2 separate regions of the Homo sapiens genome follow, and region 1 is linked to region 2. The links are contacts of gene promoters, found by promoter capture Hi-C in blood cells and fetal thymus (Javierre and others, 2016). All regions are on one chromosome and are shown on one strand. The core of a region is centred on a gene start or on the middle of the fragment in contact, and the rest is flanking DNA. Distances in the headings are between cores, read along the strand shown. Region 1 holds the start of MNAT1 (MNAT1 component of CDK activating kinase). Region 2 holds the start of TIMM9 (translocase of inner mitochondrial membrane 9).

Evidence for each region. The method cuts DNA at HindIII sites, captures the fragments that hold promoters and counts their contacts. A CHiCAGO score of 5 or more calls a contact.
Region 1: a contact is called between the fragment with the promoter of MNAT1 here and the fragment with the promoter of TIMM9 in region 2, in 2 of 17 cell types (naive CD8 T cells and naive CD4 T cells). The highest score is 5.5, in naive CD8 T cells.

Annotation. Positions count from the first base shown.
Region 1 is chr14:60,732,552-60,737,175 of GRCh38, reverse strand. MNAT1 (MNAT1 component of CDK activating kinase) reads right to left here and starts at 2,415. Exons shown (of 8, transcript NM_002431.4): 1 at 2,225-2,415. The coding sequence starts at 2,313. RefSeq lists enhancers at 2,122-2,191, 2,302-2,401. The HindIII fragment of the contact is 2,495 bases long and covers 523-3,017 here.
Region 2 is chr14:58,425,528-58,429,663 of GRCh38, reverse strand. TIMM9 (translocase of inner mitochondrial membrane 9) reads left to right here and starts at 2,133. Exons shown (of 6, transcript NM_012460.4): 1 at 2,133-2,272; 2 at 2,422-2,610. It overlaps KIAA0586, which reads right to left and starts at 1,945. Exons shown (of 31, transcript NM_001329943.3): 1 at 1,201-1,945; 2 at 231-301. The coding sequence starts at 1,399. RefSeq lists enhancers at 1,674-1,863, 1,934-1,983, 2,998-3,941. The HindIII fragment of the contact is 11,466 bases long and covers 1-4,136 here.

The sequences.
Region 1 (4,624 bases), core at 1,166-3,665, 2.3 Mb before region 2:
TTTAAATGATTGCCAAAAAAATCAGTGAGTTCTCTCCTCCATTCAGAAACAGCAGTGTGTTAGCCTAGATTAAAGTACTTCTTTAAAAGGATGATTAATTAGACAACATGCTAAAGAGTTCATATTAAGAAAATTACAACAGAGTCCTTATAATTAAAGCTGTATTTTCACATTTCATAGTGTACTGAAATCATTTAAAGCTAATCATTATTGTGCAAGTATTTCATAGCAGGCCAAATAAGTCCTGTTTTAATTTTATTTCTGCTTATCACCCATGCCACACAAAGAATAATAATAATAAAATAGCCAATATATAGTAAACAAATATTATGTGACAGAATACTAAATATCTCTAAATATTTTCCATATATTATTTAATACTTAAGGACCGTGATACAAGCAGCACTATTTTCTCTATTGTACCAACAAGAAGAACGGCTAACAAAGAGTTAGTCATTTCCCTAAGGCCACAGAGCCGGTAAGAGTAAAGAATGTGAAATCAGACAGGCTCATTCCAAAGCTTGTTCTCTCAGCCAATACGCTACAGCTTTTCACTCATTTTGTTCACATTTCAAGTCAAAAAAGGACTGTAAAATGTAGCCTGTTATCTAACAGGTTAGCAAATTAACCACATTAAATGCAACACCAGAATGAATTAGACAAAAGTCTTAACTCTTAGATCTTAACAAAAAGGGCTGAGGATACAACAAAAGCAATTTCAATTAAAATAAATATTTTATACTTGCCCAATTAAAATGCCATTTATGTTACTGAAATCGTATAATCTTCCCTGAATGGCTAAGTGCTGCTAGGCCAGAAAATTACATTTAGCATCCTTCTGGTAAATTACATTTAGTTAGTATCCTTCCCAAAAAAAAAAACAAACTCTCTTTCCTGTTCCACCATAACAAACCTGATAAAGAAAAATGGAGAGAAATTGAACGAAATCTCTCTAAAAACAGTCTATCTACAGTGTTTTTCCATGTAGAATTCCCTTTTCCATGCATTCTTCTTGATTACTTTTACCTTACTTCTAATCTTAAATCATTCAATCACAGCTCTACTATACTTCTTTGCAGAGTAAAGCAAAGGAAAATAAAGATCAATTAGAAAAGTTAAGTAAGCTAATAAATTCCATATAATAATTATAGCTACAGCTAATCATGCAATTTATGCTTACCTAAAGACCCTGTCATTGCTCTACATTTTTGTCAGCACTTGGGGGGTTGGGAGGAGACCTTGTCTACACACTGTAGATTATCCATTATTTTTTGCCTCCAATAAACCTGAAAGAAACTACAGGAATATATGCTCGCCATTACATGGCACCTTTTTATCTCAAAGTGCTTTCTAGAACCACCTTCACTAAACCACATCTGACAAGAAATCTGGCAAGAAACACTTTGACCAATCCCTGTTTCAAAATACACAAACTCAACCTCCCTCCTTCTGCCCCCTTCCCCTGAAAATGGGCGTTCTAAAGTCAGACTTCCTGGGTTCCAATTCTCTCAAGGCCCACTTAATAAGGGACCTTGAGCAGTCTCGATTTCCTTCCCTGTGAAATGGAAATACCAGTATCTACTTCATGGGACTGTTGTAGGAATGAACTGAGATAATTCATGGTAAGGCGCTTAGAACACTGTCTGGCACAAAATGTGCACTCAAATGCCAGCCATTATTATATCTTCAAAATTAACTACCTACAGTCCGGGTTTTCTTCATTTTAGTGATGGGAGTCTAACCGAACTCCATCAGGACAAGTGGGCATACACACAGGGTTTTTTAATTAACTCATACAATAAATAGCAGCAGTATATACTCAAGCAAATTTTAAGTTTTCATAGCACTTTCGCACTTTTTCAATAAAAACATTTCATATGAAATAAACACTCCAATCCCCCACGCTTTTAATCAGCGATGTCCAGAGCCCAGTAAACAACACAAAGCCTGGAAATACAGTCGGGATACTCATTGGCTATGGAAGGGGGAACCTGACAAACTGCTGGATGCCACACTGAGAACCCGCAGTTCAAAGCAGGCCAGAGCCGCTCGGGGCTAGCGGCTACAGTCTATTTAAAGTCACAACGCCTTCTTTTCCCATTTTCCTCCCCAGTGTTGAAACTAACAACGCCCTTTGCTCCCAAGACGAGGCCTAGCATCTCCCGGTCCTCTCCTCCCACCCAGCGCGTCTCTCCCCCAGGGAATCCACTGCCGCCCAACTCACAGAGTGTGTCCGCACACATTCACCATCAGCTTCAAGGAGGGGTTCCGATATTTGGTGGTCTTACACCGAGGGCAACCCTGATCGTCCATGGCGGTTTCCCTCCTACAGACTCTCGCAGGCGCCTGTTTCAGCCAGAGCCACCTACAAGCCCCCTCAGACGCGACCAAGCAGGTTCCTACCAACAGGCGCTTGGCAGAGACGGTCCCTTCGCGAAAGAGCACCGGCAAGGGGCGAGGCGCTGCAACACAAACGTTCCGGCAGTCAGTTCCCCCGGTCTTGCATCTAGGGCTTGGTCTTAGCCTTCCATAAAGCAACTTAATACCTTGAATTTGACAGGGGAACTTTTAAAATGGCAAATTATACAAAGCCTTATCTCCACGCACCCAGTTGCATTTTTCAAGGTACTGTGTCACAATTAGGAAGATAAATTCCATCTTGTTCTGTCTGGAAACATTCCCATGATTTCAAAGATTTATGAGCGGTGTACTTACTTTCTTTTGGACCATTTAATAGCCTGTGCTTTATACTTCTTTATAATTGCATAGTCATGTCAGCTCAGCTGATAATATGCATTCGCAGATACAAAATATGAAAAAGCTATCTACTCCATCAGACAGTATTTATTTCCCCAAATACCTAGGAAAAAATCATATAAGAATACATACAGAAAAATTTAGTTCTGCAATTCCAAGATCTGATAGCCTGAATATCTTTGTAAATTGTAAACCATGTTCATCACATTTATCAAGAAGGCAAATTGAAGTCTGTAAACAGCTCTATTAAATAATAAGCTTTCCCACTGTAAAGGACACATCTTATTCATCTCCAAAATAAAGATTTGTTGATTCTTAATGAGTAAGTAGACTAAGTGAAGAATTAATGAATGACTATCAAACAATAGTGTAATGTGAAAATTTTTAGTGTCAAACATTTTTTGTAACCACCTTCATCTGACCCAAACTCCATCAGAAGGGAACATGCAAACTAGATTTTTCAAATAATCTGATACAATGAGTATAAGCTATAAACATTTATAGTAATTTTAACTCATCATAGAACTTGTGTTCTTTTCAATAAAAAGTAATATTCAATTCACATTTTTAAACAGTGAACCTGGTAGGGAACCCAAAACCCAAAAATACAGTTGGGATTTCCATGGGTATAGAGAGGGATGCTGACAAACAGCTGGATACCACACCCAGGAACCAGCAGATCAAAGCAGGCTGTGACAGAGCTTTACATTAGTATGAAGACATCAAGGATTCATCTAATAAATAAACCATATCATCTCTTTGATCATAATATTGTTCCTCAACAGGAGTTAACCAAACATAAACTTACTAAAATAGGTAACACCAAATACTATGCTACTATGCTGACCCGGAGGCTTATTATGCTGCTGCTATTGTCTTATTGAAAGACCACATCCAGACCAGTTACATGATTCAGAGTGAAGCTCTTCAAGAACAAAGGCAACTCTAGTACTTTATATTTTGGACCATTTAATAGCCTGTGCTTTATACTTCTTTATAACTGCATAGTCATGTAAGCTCAGCTGATAACATACAAGAAACTTCTGGTGAAAGAATGAATATGTCATATGTGCAAATAAAATTTTTAGCCAATACTACATTGAGGTCATCCACTCAGATGGCATTATAGTTTATTGCCACTAGGACAATTTTTGTGTGTTTGTTTGTTTGTTTTGAAACAGGATCTCCTTCTGTTGCCCAGGCTAGAGTGCAGTGGCCCGATCACAATTCATTGCAGCCTTGAACTCCTGGGCTCAAGTCATCCTCCCACCTCAGCCTTCTAAGTAGCTGGGACCTCAGGCACTAGCCACCAGTCCCAGCTAATTTTTTATTTTATTTTTTTAAGAAATGGGATCTCACTATGTTGCCCAGGCTGGTCTTGAATTCCTGGGCTCAAGCAGTCCTCCTACCTCAGGCTCCCAAAGTGCTGGGATTACAGGCATGAGCCTGTAATGATGCCCAGCTATCCAGGACAGTTTTAATTACGTCTTTGAAGATGAGACCCCAACCACGTTGCGAAGTGAATTGCTTTTCCTTTCTCCCAAAACTTAAGATTAAGGCAAAGAAAGCACTAAAGATTGTGAGAAGCAGCAATGCTACAAGCTTTATCCTTTTCCTAGGTGGGAAACTACTAACTTGGAAGCATGGTAGCAACAGCTGACTTGGAAATCTGTCAGATAAGCTTTACTTATGGACCTAAAGACAGTAGAAAATAGCACTTATAGATTTGGTCTCTAGTACCAAGAGAGCTGAATTCAAGTGCTGGCTTCATCACATGATTTATATGACCTTGAGCCTCAGTTTTCCCAATTCTAAGTTCAGGATAGTACTTGTAAAGAATAAAAGATACTTCATTTAAAACACCTAG
Region 2 (4,136 bases), core at 884-3,383:
TTCAGCGGCCATTATCTTACTAATAGGTATTTTTGATTCTAGGGAAGGCCTTTTGTTTAATGTCTCAAACACCATTCAAAGTCACAATTGTAGTATATAAAACATTTGTTTTGGTAAGTGATATTTAAATAAAAACAAGGCATGCTGCTAATCAAACATAATTTAAGAATGCATTATTTGACAATACTGAAAATTTTAACGTGAGCATAATTAAGAATCCTTTTGCTTACACTTTCTGACACCATGGGATTTTCTAATAGAGGCTGGTAACAATTTCTAGCAGAAGTTAAGTCTGATGAACCTAACAAAACAAAGGAATAGATTTTAGTGATTTTAAAATCAGATCCTTAGCTTTAGAAACTGTATATGCATGATTCAAGATCTATAAACTCCATATAACGCAGAAGTTGGAAAGACAATTTGCATGCAAAAAAAGTTAAGAAAATGTATTTAAACATATCTGAATGAAAGTTTTTACAGTTGATATTTGGGAAAATAAGGTTCGGTACTGACAATAAAGTGAGATTAAGCACGAAACATTTTAAAATATAACCATACACTATTGGATGTGGACAAACTATGGGTAGAAATATGTATACGATGTAAAGGTCTAATTTAACAGCAGTACTATTTGAGTGTCACCGCTGTATCCCCCAAAGAACAGCATTACAAAAGCGTTTTGCTGTTTTTGCTCACATATTCATTAATTTAATCCTCACAATTAGCAGCGAAGTGGGTAAAGCATATGTTATCCTTATTTTCACTGAGCTCTAGACAGATTAAGTGAATTGGAATATAGAAGCCATCAATTGGCAGAAGTCCTGCTTTTCCCACTATGAAAAGAAAGTAGTGAATTAGGTAAAAAGCACTACTTTGGGGGAAAACTATAAAAAACACTACGTGGGGGAAAATAAAGCACATTATACAAGTTAAGTGTATCCACCATAAATATAAAAAAAAAAATATGCAAAAGTCAATGCAAAAAAAAAAAAAAAAAGCACAACAGGGGACGTTAAAGTTTCATTCATTCCATCTATTCAAACATTTTATAGGCTTCCTGGCCATTTTCCCGGGAAACAGGGTCAGTTTTCAAACATCTGTACAAACTAGACTTATATCTTACGTTTGGGAATTTAAACAAATAAGGACTAAAGATTTACTAAACTAAAACTGGTTGAAAAACTACATGGAATCACATACCACGTGATGTTCCATTCAAACTAGTCCCCGTTCCAACAGGAAGACGTTTATTTGCAGACAATGCCGGAGGAACACAGGGCAACTCATCTTTCAGCAAAACCAAATGATCTCCATGATTTTGAGAAACTACCTCACGAAGTCTCTTCACTGGCATCTTAATCTTTTTTTTCTTCTCCAAGCTGACCTCAGAGCCTTTCATATTGTTGGTCACAAAACAAGTCCCACACTTAAGGACGGAAAAACTTTCTCTGTTTCCTTAAGACTTCAGAACAAAATTTTCACCTCTTTGCAATAACTGTTTTTAAAATGTCGAACATCCACAAAGCTGAAAATCTAAATTCTGATATTGAATCCAGGATTAGAGCTGACTATAAAGTCATATTTACCCATTAATCCCACTCAGTCTATTAATACACCACGCCAAAATGTGAAAGTGGGGATGACAAGAGAATGGCCACAGGAGCAACAATAACCATAACAGTGCACTCCCCAACCCCAGAGCTGGTAGGGCAAAACCAAACACATGTAGTGGCGGGCTTAAAATTTGTTGAGAAGAGGCAGTCAAGCAAATAAAAGCGAAATGCTATTTTTAAAATAATGACCCACATAAGAAGCGTAATAGCTTTCTTCAGCCACAGAGTCTTACACACCCCTCCAGATGCAATCGTCGGAAACATAAATTCACCCCTACGTATCTCCAGAACGCCCGAGACCCGCACCGTCGTGGGTGTAATCTGACAACAGCGTCAGTTGCCCGCAGGTCAACACCCACTTCCCTTCAAACCCGCCCTTGAGACACAACACGCATGCGCGCCAAGAAACTCACCCAAAACATCCAACCAGAAAGCTAAGCGCTCTCTGGTGCTCTTCCATTCCTCTCCGGGTGGAAACAAACTCCGGACATAACAGGGGTTTATTTATTTATTTATTTTAAGGTAGCACATTGCCGCACAAGACCGCTCTACAGTCTCATCCAAGACTTGAAGAGCTCCCGACTTGTAATACTACTTGTGTTTACCAGGGACTGTTGACACTGCTTCGCTTCCGAAGACCGTTAGGGACGTGGGATTAGGTAAATTAGGCTTCCAAGAAGTTTCGACAGATTCGGGTCATTATTGGAGAGGAAGTCGGGAATAGAAAGCGTTGTCTAAGCAGAAAATAACCGAAGTTAATCCTTAGGAGATTTTAGAATTCGCTGATGGTACCTGCTTTTTCTTCTAGATTTCCTCGCGTTATAACGAATCGGCGTCTAAGGGTTTAAGTGTCACTTGACATTACTGCTCCCACGTGTTCTTTCCCATCTGGCGGCCGCGGCTCCTGTCCAGACCCTGACCCTCCCTCCCAAGGCTCAACCGTCCCCCAACAACCCCCAGCCTTGTACTGATGTCGGATGCGAGAGCCTGTGCTTAAGTATGGTGTCTGTTCTCTGCCGTGAGAATCCGGGGTTCCCGGACGGGGGGTGGCAGGCTACGCTCCAGGAAAGTGGCGGGGTCTCCCGAGGAGGCCGCCGCACGTACCTGGAGCAGTGGGGGGTGCGAAGCGGGACAGCGCTTCGCCGGGTCGGGTGCAGACCTTCCTGGAGATGGTGTCACCTGGGCGAGGGTAGGAACTTTAGGCCCTGAGCCACCCCCAACCCGGATCTGGGGAGTCGGGGTCCTGTTTTGGGACACTGAATTAGACTATAAGGTATTTACGATGTGACCTTGAGCTGCCCGGGGGAAGATCCTCCTTTAAATGAAAATCGTCTTTAGACATAATACCAGGTCTAACACCCCTTCCCTGATCTGCTCATTTCCCAGGATGCGCTACTTAGAGCTTTCCCTTTACGCCTTACTGGAGGCTTTAGAATAATCAAAGCAGAAAATGTAATCCGATCTAAAAGCTAAATAACTAATTTTATTTCTTTTACATCTCGGCAGTCTACCTTCATAGAAGTCTAGACTTAAAATGGACTTTAAAGTCTGAGCGCGGTGGCTCACGCCTGTAATCCCAGCACTTTGGGAGGCCAAGGCGGGCGGATCACGAGATCAGGAGTTCGAGACCAGCCTGGCCAGCAAGGTGAAACCCCGCCTCTACTGAAAATACAAAAAATTAACTGGGCATGGTGGCGCGCGCCTGTAGTCCCAGCTACTCAGGAGGCTGAGGCAAGAGAATTGCTTGAACCCGGCAGGTGGAGGTTGCAGTGAGCTGAGATCGCGCCATTGTGCTCCAGCCTGAGTGACAGATCAAGACTGTCTTAAAAAAAAAAGAAAAAAAAAGACTTTAAGGGCTCAGCGTTAAAGACCCTTTTAATTATTATTTTTTTGTAACTTGCTGAGTTTCTCTAATGAGTTTTGTGTTGTTTTTTGAGACAAAGTCTCACTCTGTGGCACAGGCTGGAGTGCAGTGGCGCGATCTTGGCTCACTGCAACCTCCGCCTCCCAGGTTCAAGCGATTCTTCTGCCTCAGGCCTCCTGAGTAGCTGGATTACAGGCGCCCGCCACCACGCCCAGCTAATTTTTTTTGTATTTTTATTAGAGACGGGGTTTCACCATGTTGGCCAGGTTGGTCTCGAACTCCTGACTTGATTCACCCGCCTCGGCCTACCAAAGTGCTAGTATTACAAGCGTGAGCCACCGCACGTGGCCATTATTTTTTATTTTAGTTACATTTTCTCTTCGTAATTGGGCTCATAGGTGGTACTTGTTTGTTCACAATTTATTGTATATTATGAGTGTACTGAAAGAACTACAATGTCAGAGTCGCCAGAGACCTTGGAGATAGTTTAACTCTTACCTTCTAGGTGAAACTTATGTGAAAGAAACAGTGACCTAAGATCTGAGTGTAGGCACTCTGAATTATTAAAATGACAACTTAATTTGGATCTTACAGCTCTTTGTCATTACTCTTTAGTTCCTTTCCCTCTTTTTTTTTTTTTTTCCAGAGACAGGGCCTTG